Regions from separate parts of the Homo sapiens genome. Here region 1 is linked to region 2. The links are contacts of gene promoters, found by promoter capture Hi-C in human tissues and cell types (Jung and others, 2019). All regions are on one chromosome and are shown on one strand. The core of a region is centred on a gene start or on the middle of the fragment in contact, and the rest is flanking DNA. Distances in the headings are between cores, read along the strand shown.

Region 1 (2,722 bases), core at 78-2,577, 210 kb after region 2:
TATAGCCAACACGTATAGGAAATGCCACAGTGAATGTTTTTAAGATGTCGGAGGTCACCAGTGACAATCCAAGAGTCTCGCCGCCCCCTCTTTGAGTCCAAATGTATTCAAGAGTATTGCTTGAAAATGTTTTCCATTGTCCTGAAAGCGGCTCTACACCCTGCACCTCTGTGCCCCTGACCATGTGCAGTCTTTTCCTCGGCAGCTGTGTCATGCTCGGTTTCCTCAGATGCACTCCCTTCCCAACGCCATCTTCTCCTTCGTGGCACCCTACTTAGATTTTCTCTGCACTGACTTGCCTTTTTGCTTCTTTTTTCTTTTTATTGTAGATACTTTTTTTGTTTTTGTCAATTATTTAATAGTTATCTTGATTATTTATATCCTTCTAGTTTTTTGACTTTAGTGTTTTTTTCTGTAGCTTTTTATTTTTATTTATTTTTTATTTTTTTCCTAGCTTATGGAGGTATGATTGATGAAACTTGTCTATATTTAGGGTGTACAATGTGATGTTTTGATATATGTTTACATTGTGAAATGATTACCACAGCGAAGCTGACCGACATACCCATCACCTCACCTGGTTTCCATTTTTTGTGTATGGTAAGAACGCTTGAGAGCTACTTTCTTAGCAAACCTCAAGAATACAATGCGTTATTATTAATTATAGTCACCATGCCGTGCTTTAGATCTCCAGAATGTATTCATTTTATAACTGAAAATGCGTGCCCTTTGACCAGCACCTCCCCTTGACCCCCAGTCCCCAGCCCCTGGTAGCCATCATTCTGTTCTCTGTTACTGTGGGTTTGACTTTTATTTAGATTCTACATACCAGTGAGATCATGTAGTATTTGCCTTTCTGTGTCTAGCTTATTTCACCTAACATAATGTCCTGCAGGTTCATCTATGTTGTCACAAATGGCAAGATTCTCTTCTTTTTGAAGGCCATATGACCCTGTAGTCAGGAGCTGGCCTTTTCTATCAGCCGCAGATTTTGGTCTGTGTTTCACTTTTAAGATGGTTAGCTAAGATGTGAAACAAAGCAAATTCTTATGATCAATCTCAGTTGTCCTTGCTCTTCAGCCATTATTTCCAGTTTTCAGCCAGTGGTTTTCTATGTCTGTGGATACAACTAAACCAGTTACCATTAATTTTCTAGGAAGGCCAGGCGTGTTGGCTCATGCCTGTAATCCCAGCACTTTAGGAGGCCAAGGTGGGTGAATCACTTGAGTCCAGGAGTTGGAGACCAGCCTGGGCAACATGGCAAAACCCACTCTGTACAAAAAATACACACAAAAAAATTAGCTGGGCATGGTGGTGCACACCTGTAGTCCCAGCTACTTGGGAGGCTGAGGTGGAAGGATTGCTTGAGCCCAGGAGGCAGAGGTTGCAGTGAGCCGAGACTGCACCACTGCACTTCAGCCTGGGTGACAGAGTGAGACTCTGCCTCAAAAAAGAAAAAAAATTTCTAGGAAAATGTTTAAAGACATCATGCCAAATATTTTATCATCATCTGAATACAAAATATATCATTTAGCCTTTATAACCATAATTTTTAAGAACAAATCTTCGCATTTTTCCAGTGTGACCTGTTTTGTACTCCTACAAACTTTATTTCAGCTAACAATGCTTATCCTATAATTCCCTGGTAAATTATACTTTCATATCAAGGCTCTCTAAATGCAATTATTCTTCCCCCTCAGAAAGTGGATCTCTTCAGCCTGGGAATTATCTTCTTTGAGATGTCCTATCACCCCATGGTCACGGCTTCAGAAAGGATCTTTGTTCTCAACCAACTCAGAGATGTATGTATCAGGTGTTTTAGTGCCTACATTTTCAGTAACCGGAATCTTAGCACAGAGATCAGAATTCAAAGCAGGATATTTTTCTGGTATTTATAATATAGAAGAGGCTGCCCTACTGTAATTTTAATGACTCATTTATTCAGATATGCAAGACTAACCAGTTTTCCCATTTTTAGTGAAACATTTTTCTGAGCAAAGGAAGTCACCTCAGTTAAATTCTTAAAATAGCAGTTTTGGGAGCCAAAGATCATCAGCATGTAGGAGGGATCTTACTGGTCTCTCCACTATGTTTCCACAGTGAGGTAAATGGAACCCTACCTCTGATGATGGGAAACTTGCCCCAGTTTTGTTTGTTTTTGGAAATCTTACCTGGAGAAATTGCTAGGTTATAGTTGCTTTTTAAAAAATTATTCTGAGATTTACTCTTGATTTTAAAGCAAAGGAAGAAGCCACAAAATTGGGCTTGATATGAATATGGTTATAACAAGGGAGTAGATTGTAAAGAAATGGGTATTTAGTTCTAGAAGTTAAAGATGCCTGTTGAATGGGCCAGTTGTAGTAACGTCTAAAGAAAACTACCAAGACCAGAAGTTAAAACGGGTCCGAAAAAAATATCTGCCCCTTGAAATGTTTTTCCCAATGAAATTTCCATTTGTGTTCTTGGGATTAATCCTTGCCTCATTTACTGCCTGAGCTAAAAAGGGACCAGTGTTACATGTGCGAGGTCAGAGATGCCCATGAGCAAACCGCATTAAGATGAAAGTGAAGAGTGAGGTTTGGGTGAGAGTGATTTAAATTCACATATTTATGAGCGAGACATCTGGAGAGCCACCTTCTTTCTTACTGAGCAGAGTGAAGCAGGAATATTTATTAAGTTAATTCATAAACACGATAACTAGAATGCAGTAAGAATACTCCTG
Region 2 (2,748 bases), core at 29-2,528:
TCATCCAAATATGCCTCAAGTAGGAAATGGATAAATATACTACCGTAGATCCATACAATGGACTATTACTCAGCAACATAAAGGAACAACTGATACACAGAACATGAATGAATAGCAACTGCATGATGCTAAGCTGAAAGAAGCCTGATTCAAAAGGCCACAGGGTGTTTGCTTCCATCAATATGACATTCTGGAATAGGCAAAATTACAGGAACAAAAAACTAGGAAGTTGTTGCCAGGGATGGCGTTAGGGGAGGGATTAAATACAAAGAGCACTAGGGAATTTGGGGTTCATGATGAAACTTCCGTATGCTGATTGTGGTGGTTGGTAATTACATAACTGTATACATTTGTCAAAACTCACAGAACTGTAGATTAAATGGGTGAGGCTTACCATAAGTAAGTTATACCTCAATTTTAAGTTAATATATTTGTGCCAATCTTTCTTTAGTTATGCTCATACATCCATAAAATATATTAGAATTGCTGAGTCAAAGAACACTTATGTTTCAAATTTTGGTAGTTCGCCAAATTGTACTCCAAAAAGGCTGCACCAAATTACACTACTTCCCCTACACTGGGCTGGGGCCCATCTGGTTATGTCAAAGCTGTTTCATCTTCTCCAGTCTCATAGGTGTAAAAGGTATCTGTGAATTTGGTTTACATTTCTTCACGAGAAAAGTTGAGTCTCTAATCAATTGTTTGCTGTTTGCATCTTTTTATTTTTCCTGTGAAATGCCTATTTGCATCCTTTGCCGTTTACGGTCTAGTTTAAATGGCTGGTGATCAGTTCTAGATCTTGGTGGGAAGATCCAAATCTCGGGAAAGTAGAAGCCTTGGTTACAGGTCCTAATGTTAGGTGATTCCTGGAGAAATAGCCTCCGCGGAGGCAGAAGCCGCTGGGGCCCCGCCCCCAATGAGCCCGCCCCCGCCCTCTCATTGGCCCTGTCCGCTCTCCCTGACAGTCCATCTACATGCCAAGCGGCCCGACGCAGCTCCGCCCCGCCCACTCCTCGGCGCACCGCCCCGCGACCGAGCTCCGCCCTCATCTGCGCGGCCCCTCACCTTCCCGCCGGGCCTCCTCGAGGAACTGGCCGCCGTCAGTCAGGGCGCAGATGGCCGCAGAAGCGCGCCGCAGACACTCGCCGCGCCAGCCACTTACCCCCAGAGGAGAGGGGTCTCTCCCGCCACCTCAGCCTCTCTGGTAGTGGAAGAAGCCGCCGGTCCAGATCCCTCCTGCCTGTGGGACCGCTGTTTCCCTGGCAACCAGATGCGCGATGCTTCCGGTCTCGCGATAGCGGAAAGGGCTGTACCATCCGGAAATGGGACCGGGGCCGGCGGCTGTTGGAGCCCTGCGAGCTGGGACGGCCGGCGTGTGTCCTTCCGTCTTCGCTGCCGACGGTGGGGGTTGGGAGCGATTTTTCGTCTTTAGGTTGGATTCGGAACGCGGACGTCTGGATGCTTGTGTATCTCTGTCCCTCATATTGCTGTGATGCCTTACAGGTCAGTTATCCTCTCCGAGCACAGTTTCCTCCTCCGTAAAATGGGAACAATAATAATTCCCTTCTTACAAGACTTGTGCAGCTCAAAAAGACCATGTATGTGAAGCTCTAGTAAATTTGGGGTGCTATGGAAATTTTAAAAATATGAGTTTTGCACAGATTCGGCTACAGTCCAAAAAGAGTTATAATTGCTTTTTGCACCTTCTTTCATTTCGTAGTTTCTCTAATTCTCAGTGCACGAAAATTATTTCCCTACGTCCACAAACTGATTTTCCTCACCTCCATTGCCATCATTTCTCCTGCTTTCCAGTCTGAACAGCACATTACCGTTTACAGGGCATTTTCACATTCATGGCCCCTTTGTCCTCATTGTTTTAACTAGGTACGATGTGGTTTTTTTTCAGCGAAGCAAATAGTCGTAGGCTGAGTTGCCGAAAGAACACAGCTGCAGTCTAGGCGAGTGCTGGGTATAAAAACCTGGCTATAAATGCCATCCCTATGCTCCTGAATCCTGCATCTTATCACCAGCCCAGACTTCCCTGAACTCCAGACTCCTTTACCTAACTGCCTATTTGGCATATCCACTTAGATGTGTAAGCATCTCAAACTTAACACGGGAAAAAACAACTTCTCCAGAGTCCCCCACCCACTTTCTATCCATCTCAGCAAATGGTAATTTCAGCCTGCCATGCCTAGACCAAAAACCTTGGAGTCATCCTCAATTCTTCTTCCTCTCTCACTCTACAATCTATTTGTCCTATCAGCTCAACATTCAAAATATATTCAGAATCCAAACATTCGTCACAACTTCAGTGCTTCCATTCAGGTTCATACTGACATCATCTCTAAATGATAAGGCTTTCTGTTGGCTCTCTGACCTCCACTCCTACCTACTGCTTTCCCCTGGTAAACCTGGTTCCAGCCTCACTGTCCTCATTGTTAGTGTTTCTGTGCAGGGATTTCTTCCCAGCATTTCTCAGGGAATTTATGTGGCTTTCCAAATCTCAAAAGAAAAAAAGTTGCAAACTGAAGAAAATGGGAGAAAGTATCCTAATCCTCCTATGAGAATTAAAACTTAGCAGCCGACCTAGAGATGTTACTGAAGAAATTCACCAATGTCAAGTTGAAAACCAGCACAGGAAATGCTGAGTTCGAGGTTGAGGTGAACATTTTCAGGAACCAGGTCAGGAGCACTTGGGAGAGACATGGCCACAATCTCATCAGTCAGTCTTGTTTGTAGTTGGTG

What was found. The method cuts DNA at HindIII sites, captures the fragments that hold promoters and counts their contacts. A contact is called where the count stands out against the background at its distance.
Region 1: a contact is called between a fragment that was not itself captured here and the fragment with the promoter of FSIP1 in region 2, in 1 of the 25 tissues and cell types used here (IMR-90 fibroblasts).

What each region holds. Positions count from the first base shown.
Region 1 is chr15:39,995,264-39,997,985 of GRCh38, forward strand. It overlaps EIF2AK4 (eukaryotic translation initiation factor 2 alpha kinase 4), which reads left to right. Exons shown (of 39, transcript NM_001013703.4): 19 at 1,701-1,802. Among named protein-coding and RNA genes, the nearest start is that of SRP14, 43 kb to the right of the region's middle. The HindIII fragment of the contact is 8,851 bases long and covers 1-2,722 here.
Region 2 is chr15:39,781,563-39,784,310 of GRCh38, forward strand. It overlaps FSIP1 (fibrous sheath interacting protein 1), which reads right to left and starts at 1,279. Exons shown (of 12, transcript NM_152597.5): 1 at 1,066-1,279. LOC105370941 (a long non-coding RNA gene) reads left to right here and starts at 1,344. Exons shown (of 1, transcript NR_135665.1): 1 at 1,344-2,748. RefSeq lists a silencer at 909-1,088 and an enhancer at 1,389-1,518. The HindIII fragment of the contact is 15,521 bases long and covers 1-2,748 here.